Regions from separate parts of the Homo sapiens genome. Here regions 1 and 3 are each linked to region 2. The links are contacts of gene promoters, found by promoter capture Hi-C in human tissues and cell types (Jung and others, 2019). All regions are on one chromosome and are shown on one strand. The core of a region is centred on a gene start or on the middle of the fragment in contact, and the rest is flanking DNA. Distances in the headings are between cores, read along the strand shown.

What was found. The method cuts DNA at HindIII sites, captures the fragments that hold promoters and counts their contacts. A contact is called where the count stands out against the background at its distance.
Region 1: a contact is called between a fragment that was not itself captured here and the fragment with the promoter of BIK in region 2, in 3 of the 25 tissues and cell types used here (liver, mesenchymal stem cells and thymus).
Region 3: a contact is called between a fragment that was not itself captured here and the fragment with the promoter of BIK in region 2, in 2 of the 25 tissues and cell types used here (liver and mesenchymal stem cells).

The regions. Positions count from the first base shown.
Region 1 is chr22:43,167,411-43,171,191 of GRCh38, forward strand. TTLL12 (tubulin tyrosine ligase like 12) reads right to left here. Exons shown (of 14, transcript NM_015140.4): 12 at 2,090-2,158; 13 at 1,364-1,502; 14 at 1-749. The coding sequence ends at 598. Among named protein-coding and RNA genes, the nearest start is that of TSPO, 18 kb to the left of the region's middle. RefSeq lists enhancers at 798-1,654, 1,655-2,510. The HindIII fragment of the contact is 9,757 bases long and covers 1-3,781 here.
Region 2 is chr22:43,108,648-43,112,563 of GRCh38, forward strand. BIK (BCL2 interacting killer) reads left to right here and starts at 2,103. Exons shown (of 5, transcript NM_001197.5): 1 at 2,103-2,156. RefSeq lists silencers at 2,053-2,222, 2,753-2,972 and an enhancer at 2,170-2,728. The HindIII fragment of the contact is 22,290 bases long and covers 1,617-3,916 here.
Region 3 is chr22:43,072,180-43,075,890 of GRCh38, forward strand. TTLL1 (TTL family tubulin polyglutamylase complex subunit L1) reads right to left here. Exons shown (of 11, transcript NM_012263.5): 3 at 3,295-3,411. The coding sequence starts at 3,407. Among named protein-coding and RNA genes, the nearest start is that of TTLL1, 15 kb to the right of the region's middle. The HindIII fragment of the contact is 8,863 bases long and covers 1-3,711 here.

The DNA of each region.
Region 1 (3,781 bases), core at 1,187-3,686, 59 kb after region 2:
GGAATGGGTGATAAGGCGGGCTTGCTGGGTGGTGGCCTCAGGCTGTTCCTGGGCCCCTGTCGCATAGAGCCCTGTGGGTGCAGTGTGGGGCCCCACAGCCGTCCCGGGGTCGTCCTGATGCATAAGAGCAGAGACCCCGGAAGAGAAACCCGCCTGCCCCGTGTGATACAGGGCTCCCAAACGCTTCCCGGTGGAACCCTGCTCCCGAGGACACCTTGTCTCGCTCCACGGAACCCTTCCCCCAGCACCCCCTGGAAACACAGCAGCCAGGAACAAATTCTCCATGCCAGGAACAAAGCCCTTGGCTAAACTGGAGACTCATCAGTGCACAGATGGTGGTGAGGGGTGAGGGCAGGGCGTGGGGTGGTGCTCAGCCCTGGGGACACCATCACTGTCCTGCTCTGACCCACAGGTGAGAGGAGGATGCTGTGCTCCCGGAGTGTGGCGCCGGGAGGATGGCTCGGCAGGACAGAGGCCTGGGGCTGAGGCTATGCCCAGGGCCGGTGTGGGGAGGGACATGGGGGCCTTTGCAGAAGCAGCTCAGAGAACTGAGGTTGGAATCCTGCCCCAAGCACAGGTTTTGGGGACAGCGAGTGCCTAGACAAGGCAGGTAACGTGGCAGCCACCGGGCTGGTCCAGAAACAAGGTGCTGAAGACGTCGTTGAAGAAGGTGGGGTGGTACCTGCAGGCTCGCTCACAGTCGGGGTTGAAGTTCACCTCCAGGATCTGCGGCTGCATCACCCGCCTTCCTGATGGCAAAGAGCGCAGCAGAGTGTGAAGGCTCGTTGGCCTCCACTCTGCAGGGACAGTGGCCTGGGGATCCAGCAAAGGCTGGGAGGCCATGAACCTGGGCCCTGATTCCCAGGGGATGAGCAGGACAAGGCCGGGCCTAGAACTTGGGTCTCTTGACTTTGCTGGGGAGGCCTGGCCTGACATCTGCTTCTCTAGGAGAGGCCAGGGCTGCCTCCAGCCCTAGGGATGACAGCCTGGCCCTTTAAGCTTGGATGTTCAGTTTAGTAAAAAAAAAAAAAAGTAGATATGCAGCAGCAGTGTACTGTGTGGGGGTCTGGCACAGGGAAGGCCAGCCAGGGTGGTGTGGGTTGGGGTCAGGGTGCCTTTCACACGGGTCTCCTGTCCTGTGAGCTCTCCCCCGACTCAGAGGCCCAACCCGCAGCCTTTCCCCTCCAGACTCTGCACCGCAGGCACTTCCTGTGGGCCAAGCCAGGGCTTTCCCCAACCCAGATTCCTGGCTGATTCAAGCCAGAGGACAGCCTGGGGCAGCTGCCTGCCTTCTCCAGGCTGTGGCTGGCTGGCGGAGGGGGCGCCTGCTGGTTTGGATCAGGAGATGGGGAGCCCCTCTTACCATCTGGGCCGTTGTCCCACTTCAGCATGAGGTCGACGGCATACATGGCCCGGGATGAGGGGTAGTCGCAGAGGCCCAGGGGTGGTGGCTTGGCACAGGCCACCTGGAACAGCTCCGTGAAGGCCCGGAAGATCTCAGCCTGGGGACCGGGGAGCCTGAGTTACGAGGCCTGCTCAGAACAGCCTCTCAAGAGGGGGTCTGCTGCCCCTGCCCAAGTCCCGGGCCCCACGTGGCCCAAGTCACCCCCTCCCACATCTTCACGTCTCTAGACCTCACCATGGCCACCTCCGCCCAGCACCTGCCCTCTTACTCCTGACGCCCACCTTCTGCAAATCTGCCCATCTCCTGCCGCAGACCCCGTTGCTCCCCACTGCCCCAAGGAGCTCAACACAGCACCCAGAATGCCGCTGCTGGACATGGAGGCCCAGCCAACGTCTCCATATGACTGGGAATCTAGGGTCAGGCAGTGCCGCCACCCTCTGGCTGTCCCAGGGGTGCCCCACATGCCCCTCCAGCTCCCTCCCTCTCAGGAGCACCCACAAATGCCCAGGGTGGAAGGGAGGGGAGCCCACGCTGTCTTGCCAGCCTCTGGGGAGAATGACCAACTGCAGGGGACAAAGGTCCCTCCCAGCCCATGCCAGCAGAGAGGGAAGGGAGCAGCTCCTGCAGGCCCCCAGCCCGGGACCCGCCCCACCGGCCTGCGATGGTGTGCAGGACAGGAATTACCTGGACGTCCGTCCAGGGAAATTCTGGGTATTGCTTCTCAAACTCGGGGATGAACTCTTCACAGTGCACCTGCAACAGACACAGGGCCCATCACGCTCTGTACAGGCCTCCGCTGGGCCGGGAGCAGGCAGCCTGCTACTGCCTGGACCAGGAGCTTCTGACACTGGGTGGGGGTTCCAGGAGCAGGCAGCCAACCCCGAACCCTCAGGGTCCAAACAGGAGGCAGGAGATGGAGTCTGGGCTCCAGGTCTTACTGTGTGACTCTGGACCAACGGATTAACTTCTCTGAGCCTGTTTCCTCCTCTGTGAAATGGGAAAATGTGCTCTGCCCAGTAAACTGACTTTGCCACGCAGCTGTGAGGCTCACGCGAGACAATGAACATCGAGGGCTCCAGAAACTGCAGGGCCTGGGCTGGCACCATCCTCACACTCAGCTCAGTACAGTGCGAAGGAGGCAGAGCTCAAGACTCCGCCGCGGGACCTGCCTGTGCCCTGGTTCAGCACCAGCTCAAGAGTGCTTGAGGGATGCAAGATCTTTCTGGCCTCAAGACTTTACCCAAAACACACCCGAGGAAGGTGGCAGTCGGCTCAGGTTTCTCCCAGAAAAGAACAAGCCAGGAAAGGCCCCTATGGAAGCCCGCCATCCATGCCATGCTGGACGTACCTCCCCAGGCACAGAGCTCCAGGAGAGGACTCCCGGGATGACCCCCACAGTACAGAAGGGAGGGGCTCAGAACCTGAGGGCGACTTCCAACAATGTCCTGGGGCCCTGCTGGGGGGTCTGGGTCCTAGGGAGTAGGCTTCAACACAGGCAAGGATAAGACAGACAGAAGCAACAGGACCACTCGGCCCCTGTGGGGAGTGTGTGCTGGTATAGTCACCAGTGCATGGCAGGGCCCTTTCTCCAAGTCCTCCTAGAGGACTCCTCGGACATGGGCATGGCCAGGTGCCTCCACGCATGTTCACGCGCCATGATTTATCATTAGTGAAGACCTCAGATGACCAATCGCCGCCACAGTTAGCAACAAGCCCGAACCTCAAAACCTCAAAACACGCCACTCAGCCAACAAAGCAAGCTGCAGAAGGATCCGTTGAATAAGATGATATTTACATAAAAACCTAAGTAGGAGGCCGGGCATGGTGGCTCACGCCTGTAATCCCAGCACTTTAGGAGGCTGAGGCAGGCGGAGCGCTTGAGTCCAGGAGTTTCAGACAAGCCTGGGCAACATGGCGAAACCCCGTCTCTACTAAAAATACAAAAAAATTAGCCGGGCGTGGAGGCACGTGCCCGTAGTCCCAGCTACTTTAGGGGGCTGAGGCAGAAGGATGGCTTGGGCCCAGGAGATTGAGGTTGCAGTGAGCCCAGATCATGCCTCCGCACTCCAGCCTGGGTGACAGCGTGAGACATTGTCTCTCAAAAAAACAAAACAAAACAAAAAACCTAAGTAAGCAAAACAGCAGCTTGAATGGTCAGGAACATACTCCTGCTGAAAAGAACCAAAGACATGCCTGGGAATGACAGCCACACGTTCAGGGGTCGGGGAGCGTTGGGGCTGGCTGCATGGGGAGTCCGCGGCACCTGCAAGGCTGGCGACAGGCAGGGTGGGGTAGGTGTTCTGTGCATCTGAAACACTCATTAACCAGCCAGGCCACAGAGGCCTTCCAGGACTTCCTTTCTTCCTTCCTGTACCC
Region 2 (3,916 bases), core at 853-3,352:
CCTCCCAAAGTGCTGAGATTACAGGCGCAAGCCACCGCGCCTGGCCTAGTTTTTTAATTTTTAGTAGAGATGGAGTTTCGTCATGTTGGCCAGGCTGGTCTCAAACACCTGACCTCAGGTGATCCACCTGCCTTGGCCTCCCAAAGTGCTGGGGTTATAGGCGTGAGCCACCATGCCCAGCCATCTCTTCCTCCTTTTGATCAGCATATTGTCTTGGGATTTTGCAAAGTAAATAAGTACTGTATTTGCACCCACTCTGCCCTTGAATCATCCAGTGTCCCCAAACGGTCCTTCTTTCTCCATCTTTTCTGCTAATGTTTACTGAACATCTCCTACATACCTGGCACTGTGCCTCCAGCCTTAAGACCCCTCTGCAAGCATCTCACATATATCAGGTCTTTCGGACCCATGAGACCCCGTGTCATTGCTTTACCTCCCTGAGTCTCAATTTTTTCATCTGCAAAATGCATTCAGAGGGAAGCCCCCATTATGAAGGGTTCCCTGCTCCTGACTGTAAGGCACTCTGTGGCTGTTAGCCACAGTCAGGGCGAGCTGCTTTGTAGGGGTTGATGTAGTTTGGAGGCCCTAGAAGAAAAGACTACAGGGCCGGGAGTGGTGGCTCACGCCTGTAATCCCAGCACTTTGGGAGCCCGAGGCCGGTGGATCACCTGGTGTCAGGAGTTCAAGACCAGCCTGGCCAATATGGCAAAACCCCGTCTCTACTAAAAATACAAAAACTAGCCGGGCATGGTGGCACACGCCTGTAATCCAGCTACTAGGGGGGCTGAGGCGGGAGGATTGCTTCAACCTGGGAGACAGACGTTGCAGTGAGCCAAGATTGTGCCACTGCACTCCAGCCTGGGCAACAGGGCTAGACTCTGTCTCAAAAAAACAAAAACAAAAACAAACAAAAAAACCCCACAAAAGCAAAGAAGGTCCAGAGCCCGGAAGGCGGGAGGGGCTCTGAAGACTTTATCACACTTTACCTCCTCTGTTCCTCCCAACAGCCCAGCTCTTGGTAGGTGCTGTTGTCCATTTCACAGATGAGAACATTGAAGGGGAAGTAATTACCCTAGAGGTGGGAAGAACAGAGTGAGGGTACCCAACAGGTAGCAAACGACAGAGCTGGGGGAGGGGAACCCCTGTCCCTGCCCCTCCCCTAATCTCTGAGGGGATCAAGACAGAAGTAAACAAGCTTTGCCGTGCCCAGGACAATTGTTACTTTGTTATTCCAGGAGCGCTCTGCCTTCTCCCACCCCCAATATACCCCAGGGCTGGAGTTAGGTCCTACCCATCCCCGCGTAGCAGGCTGCCCACCCGCCCACCCCGCCTGGAAGCTTTCTGATTTCTCTGTTCGCCCCGCCAGGCGCTGTGGGGTCCGTCTCACCAGGTCTGCACGTGAGCCCCCTGCCCCCAATCCCTCCCAGTCCCGCCCGCCTCTCGCGGACCCGGAGCCCCGACGGGAGGGGGAAGGCAGTGGGTGTGTCATGCAGCTGGAAGGCTGCGGACGGGCGGCAGTGGAGGGGCAGCCCCCTGGCTTCGGGTATGGATCACTGGATGCTGCTGCTAACCAAATGTGAACCTCGGTTTTCATATTTGTGAAATAGGCTTTAAAACACCTAAATCCCAAAGCTGCCAGCCTAAGGAGCACACGTCTTTGAACGCTGGCTTCACGCTGTCATTTAAGTCATTTCGTCCTCTTGGAGCCTCGGTTTCCACGTGGGTAAAATGATCGTGAAAAAAAGCACCGAGGAGTACTTTGAGCTCGAACGGAGGCCATCCGTGTAAAGGGCCAGATTCTGTCAATGGATCGATCCCCCCGATATTGATGGAAACCCCTGAGTGCACGCCCGTGCTGGGCGCAGGGGAAACAGCGACGCACGGGACAAAACAAGCTTGCAGAACAGCAGGGGGCAGAGAGGCTGTAAACAAGCCAACGGGCTGCACTTGTAGCGGTTCTGTTGCCAATGCCATTCAGACCCCAGTCCGGGATTCCGCGCTCGGGGTGCGAGAGGCCGCTCCCGGGGAGGGGCGGGACCCGGGCGGGGCGGGAGGGGCGGGGCGCCCGGGCCTATTAGGTCCCGCGCCGGCAGCCGGGCCGCAGACACGAAGCCTCCCGGGTGGCTTACAGACGCTGCCAGCATCGCCGCCGCCAGGTGAGTGCCCCCGACCCTGCTGCCGCCCGCTGCTCCGCCCAGCTCGAGCCCGGCGGTTAGCGCCCAGGCCGCGGCCCGGGTGCCGAGCGGCTGGAAGTGTGGGGAGCCGTGCCCAGGTTTTACCGCTCCAGCAAGTCGCTGGCGGGGCGACGTCTCGGGACTCCGGCTCCGAAACGTACCCTCTCTGTCCGGGGCTCCAGGTCCCCGACGGGCGATCGTGCCAGGCGCGGCCCCTGCGGGCCTCAGTCTCCGCGCCTGTGCAATGGGGTGGTCCCTCTGCGTCTCGCCGCGACGGCTGGACGCCCCATCGCCGCCGCACAGTCCTCCAGTGCGGCTTCCGGGCACCCGGCTCCGAACTCTGGGGTCGTGCGGACCCGGCCAGACCGTAGCGCGGCAACGCCAGCCCACGGCCGCGGCCGCACAGCCCCGGTGCCCTTAAAAGAGGGAAGATGGCGTCGTGCCCGGTGCCGCCGGGACCGGCTCCCGGAGGCGCTGCGCACCTGAGGAAGGGCCGAGGAAAGGCTTCGTAACGGGACGCCCAGAAAGTCCGGAACAGGAACGTGCACACGGAGCGGCGCGCAGCCGCCCGCCCTCGCTTGCCCACGCGCCCTGCACAGGTGCGCCCCAGACTGGGCGGGGACTAGAGCCCGGCTGGGGCATGCGACCTTGTTTGGTAAATTGGAGGTGCGCCCCTGCGGGTGACCCGCGAGGGGGCCCCCCGCCTGCGGGGCGCGGTCACGACAAGGCTTGTGGGGTTCGGAGCTGGTCGTCGTCTGGGCTCTGGCCTCCTAAATGCGATCGCTTTCAAGCCCTTCATTGTCAATTTTGCTAGAATGAGCCACTCGTGGGGTAGGACGTGGTTGTTGATGTTACTGTTGTAGCTCTTACTATTGTAACATTTTTGTTGCTGTTTTAACGCAGTGTTTACTGTGGTCTGGGAGCCCGAGCTTCCCAGGGAGCATTGGTGTCAGCCTCATGTCCCCGCATTAGGAGGAGCGCAGTCTGGTGGGCACTAGCGCCGGGAAGTTCTTAACATCTGTCTGCCCCTGGGAGCAGGAGGCCTCATCTTCCAGGTGGAGAAACAGAGATTTCAGTCCCAGGAGGCACAGAAATGCCAGGGTTGTCTAGCTAGAAGCCAAGGGCCCTTTATGGAACCCAAGCCAAAACCTCTTTCCACTCTCCAGCCCTGTGGCCTCGGAAGGGCCACTCCATCTCTCTGAACCTCAGTTTGTTCTGTTCACTCTGCAAAATGTATCCCTGAGGTTTCTGGCCAGGTGAAAGCCCCTCTCAAGTTAGTAGCCTCCCTGGAGTTAAGACTCACCCCGATTTCTACTTAATTTGGGCACGCCTTTGGAATAAGTTCTCAGGAATGGCACAGTTTGGGTGTTTTTTGTTTCTTTTTGTTTTTTTTTGAAACAGAGCTTCGCTCTTGTTGCCCAGGCTGGAGTGCAATGGCGCCGTCTCGGCTAACTGCAACCTCGGCCTCCTGGGTTCAAACGGTTCTCCTGCCTCAGCCTCCTAGTAGCTGGGATTACAGGCGCCTACCACGAGGCCCAGCTAATTTTTTGTATTTTTAGTAGAGATGGGGTTTCACCATGTTGGCCAAGCTAGTCTCGAACTCCTGACCTCAGGCGATCCACCCGCCTCAGCCTCCCAAAGTGCTGGGATTACAGGTGTGACCCACCCCGCCCGGCTTGAGTGTTTAAATACTCCTGCCTCAGCCTCCCAAGGTGCTGGGATTACAGACGTGAGCCCCTATG
Region 3 (3,711 bases), core at 174-2,673, 37 kb before region 2:
GTCTTGCTCTGTCGCCCAGGCTGGAGTGTAGTGGCGTGACCTCGGCTCACTGCAATCTCCGCCTCCCGGGTTCACGCCATTCTCCTGTCTCAGCCTCCCGAGTAGCTGGGACTACCGGCACTCGCCACCACGCCCGGATAATTTTTTTGTATTTTTAGTAGAGATGAGGTTTCACTGTGTTAGCCTGGATAGTCTCGATCTCCTGACCTTGTGATCCGCCCATCTCGGCCTCCCAAAGTGCTGGGATTACAGGCGTGAGCCACCGCGCCTGGCCACCATCTTTATTTTCTCTCTTTCTTTCTTTCTTTTAGAGACAAGGTCTCACTCTGTTGCCCAGGCTGGAGTGCAGTAGCACAATCAAGGCTCACTGTAGTCTTGACCTCCTGGGCTCAAGCAAGCCTCCCACCTCAGCCTCTCAAGTAGCTGGGGCTACAGGCACGAACCACTATGCCTGGATAATTTTTGTATTTGTTTGTAGAGATGAGGTTTCACCATTTGCACAGGCTGGTGTCAAACTCCTGGGCTCAAGAGATCTGTCTGCCTCCACCTCCCAAAAGGCTGGGATTACAGGCATGAGTCACTGCACCCAGGCACCCCACCACCCAGCTAATTTTTTTGAGACAGGGTCTCAGTATACTGCCCAGGCTGGTCTCAAACTCCTCGCAAGGTGCTGGGATTACAGGCATGAGCCACTGTGCCCAAGAGTTCTATGCCCTGGCCTGTGGCCATCTTTAATCTGCCACAAATTGGGTATGTGGCTTTTGGGGTATTTTTCTGTTTGCAGTTGTATGAACTTATAAATTCAAATACATATGATAAGTTTCAATTCATTGCAATTATTCTTTTTTTTTTTTTGAGACAGTCTTGCTGTGTCGCCCAGGCTGGAGTGCAGTGGTGCGATCTTAGCTAACTGCAACCTCCGCCTCCTGGGTTCAAGCAATTCTCCCTGCCTCAGCCTCTCAAGTAGCTGGGATTACAGGCGCCTGCCACTAAGCCCAGCTAATTTTTGTATTTTTAGTAGAGACAGGGTTTCACCATGTTGGCCATGGTTGGCCAGGCTGGTCTCAAACTCCTGACCTCAGGTGATCCACCTGCCTGGGCATCCCAAGGTGCTGAGATTATAGGTGTGAGCCACTGCGCCCGGTCTATTTATTTATTTATTTATTTATTTATTTATTTATTTATTTTATTTTTTGAGGTACAGTCTCACTCTGTCACCCAGGCTGGAGTGCAGTGGTGTGATTTCAGCTCACTGCAACCTCTGCCTCCCAGGTTGAGGCCATTTGCCTGCCTCAGCCTCCCGGGCAGCTAGGATTACAGGTGCGCACCACCACACCCAGATAATTTTTGTATTTTTGTAGTGATGGGGTTTCACCAAGTTGGCTAGGCTGGTCTCCAACTCCTGACCTCAGGTGATGCACCCGCCTTGGCCTCCCAAAGTGCTGGGATTACAGGCATGAGCCGCTGTGCCCAGCCCATCATAATTATTTTAACGGCTGCACCATAATCCACTCAAAGTACTTAACCCACCCCCCCATACTGTTTAACATTTAGTTGTTTCCAGTATTTTACCCCAACCAATTTTTCTGTAAACCTGATTGTACATTTAGTGCTTAGAACAGAAGCTCTTCTTTTTTATTTATTTATTTATTTATTTTTTTTGAGACAGAGTCTCACTGTCACCCAGGTTGGAGTGCAGTGGCGCGATCTCAGCTCACTGCAACCTCCACCTCCTGGGTTCAAGCGATTCTCCTGCTTCAATCTCCCGAGTTCCTGGGATTACAGGCAGGCACCACCACACCCAGCTAGTTTTTTTGTATTTTTAGTAGAGACAAGGTTTTGTCATGTTGGTCATGCTGGTCTCCAACTCCTGGCCTCAAGTGATCCACCGGCCTTGGCCTCCCACAGTGCTGGGATTACGGGCATGACGGCCAGAACAAGAGCTCTCAAAATATCAATTAGCTTGGCCAGGCACAGTGGCTCACGCCTGTAATCCTAGCACTTTGGGAGGCCAAGGCGGGCGGATCACCTGAGGTCGGGAGTTCGAGACCAGCCTGACCAACATGGAGAAACCCCCGTCTCTACTAAAAATACAAAATAAGCCAGGCGTGGTGGCACATGCTTGTAATCCCAGCTACTAGGGAGGCTAAGGCAGGAGAATCGCTTGAACCCAGGAGGTGGAGGTTGCAATGAGCCGAGATTGCCCCATGGCACTCCAGTCTGGGTGACAGGAGCGAAATTTCGTCTCAAAAAAAAAAAAAAAAAAAGAAAGAAAGAAAGAAAAAAAAATATATGTATCAATTAGCCAAGACTATTACACTGTTTAGCCTTTTTCTTCATTTCATTCCATTTTTTGCTGTTGTTGAGAATAGCTCCGAAGGCTGGGTACAGTGGCTCACGCCTGTAATCCCAACACTTTGGGAGGCTGAAGTGGGAAGATCACTTGAGTCCAGGAGTTTGAGACCAGCCTGGGCAACATGGGAAGACTCTGCCTCTGAAATAAATAAATAAATAAATAAACAGCAGCTTTATGACCAAAAAAGAAAAAAAGAATAACTCCAAACTGCTTCTTATTCATGGCCGGACATGGTGGCTCATGCCTGTAATCCCAGCACTTTGGGAGGCCGAGATGGGAAGGTCCCTTGAGGCCAGGAATTCAAGACCAGCCTAGGCAACATAGCAAGACCCTGTCTCTACAAAAAAAGAAAAAAATGTGGCCAGGCGCTTGGCTTAGACCTGTAATCCCAGCACTTTGGGAGGCCGAGGCGGGTGGATCACAAAGTTCAAGACCAGCCCGGCCAACATGGTGAAACCCCGTCTCTACTAAAAACACAAAAAAATTAGCCAGGTGTGGTGGCGCCTGTAATCCCAGGTACTTGGGAGCCTAAGGCAGGAGAATCGCTTGAACCCAGGAGGCAGAGATTGCAATGAGCTGAGATCGCACCATTGCACTCCAGCCTGGGTGACAGAGCAAGACTCTGTCCTGTCCTCTGGCCCAGCTATAACGCACGCTCACTGGAAGGGGAGGGCTGAGGCTCTTGTTTCTCACCCAAACTCCCCACAGGGTTGCTGTGCTGAAACACCCCGGACTTCATACCCCAGGGTGAACACAGTGATGTGGGAACACACCACAACACATACTCTCACAAAAAACCTTAAGGAAAAATGTGTGCGGGGAGATGGCACAATGACAGGAGACAGTGGCTCTGAGGCCACTCTCTGGGAGGCACTGGAATTAGTAAAACCGATACGTAAGCCTCAGAGAAACAACCCAGCCCTGCTGTGTATGCTTACCAGTAAAAATTCCAGTCCTCGTTTTCTGTCACTTGGACCCATCCTCTCTTTTCAAAGTTATTGATCAGCACTGACTTCTCGATATCAGTGACCCATTTTACTTTCCCTGCCATAATCCTGGAAGAGATCAAAATATTAGAGATATGAAACTTCAACAGCTCACTTCCCTTTAAACCCAAGGAATCCTCTAAACAGCATGCCCATCCCAAACTCGATCTTACCCCGGCAATGGTTCTCAACCAGGAGTGATTCCATCTCCCAGGGGACACCTGGCAATGTCTAGAGAGTCTGGTTGTCATGACCAGGGGATGCCTCTGGCATCGGGCATGTCCAGGCCAGGGATGCTGCTCGATGTCCGACTGCACAGATGACCCCTCACAACCAATTATCCAGCCCCAAATGTCAACTGTGCCAAGG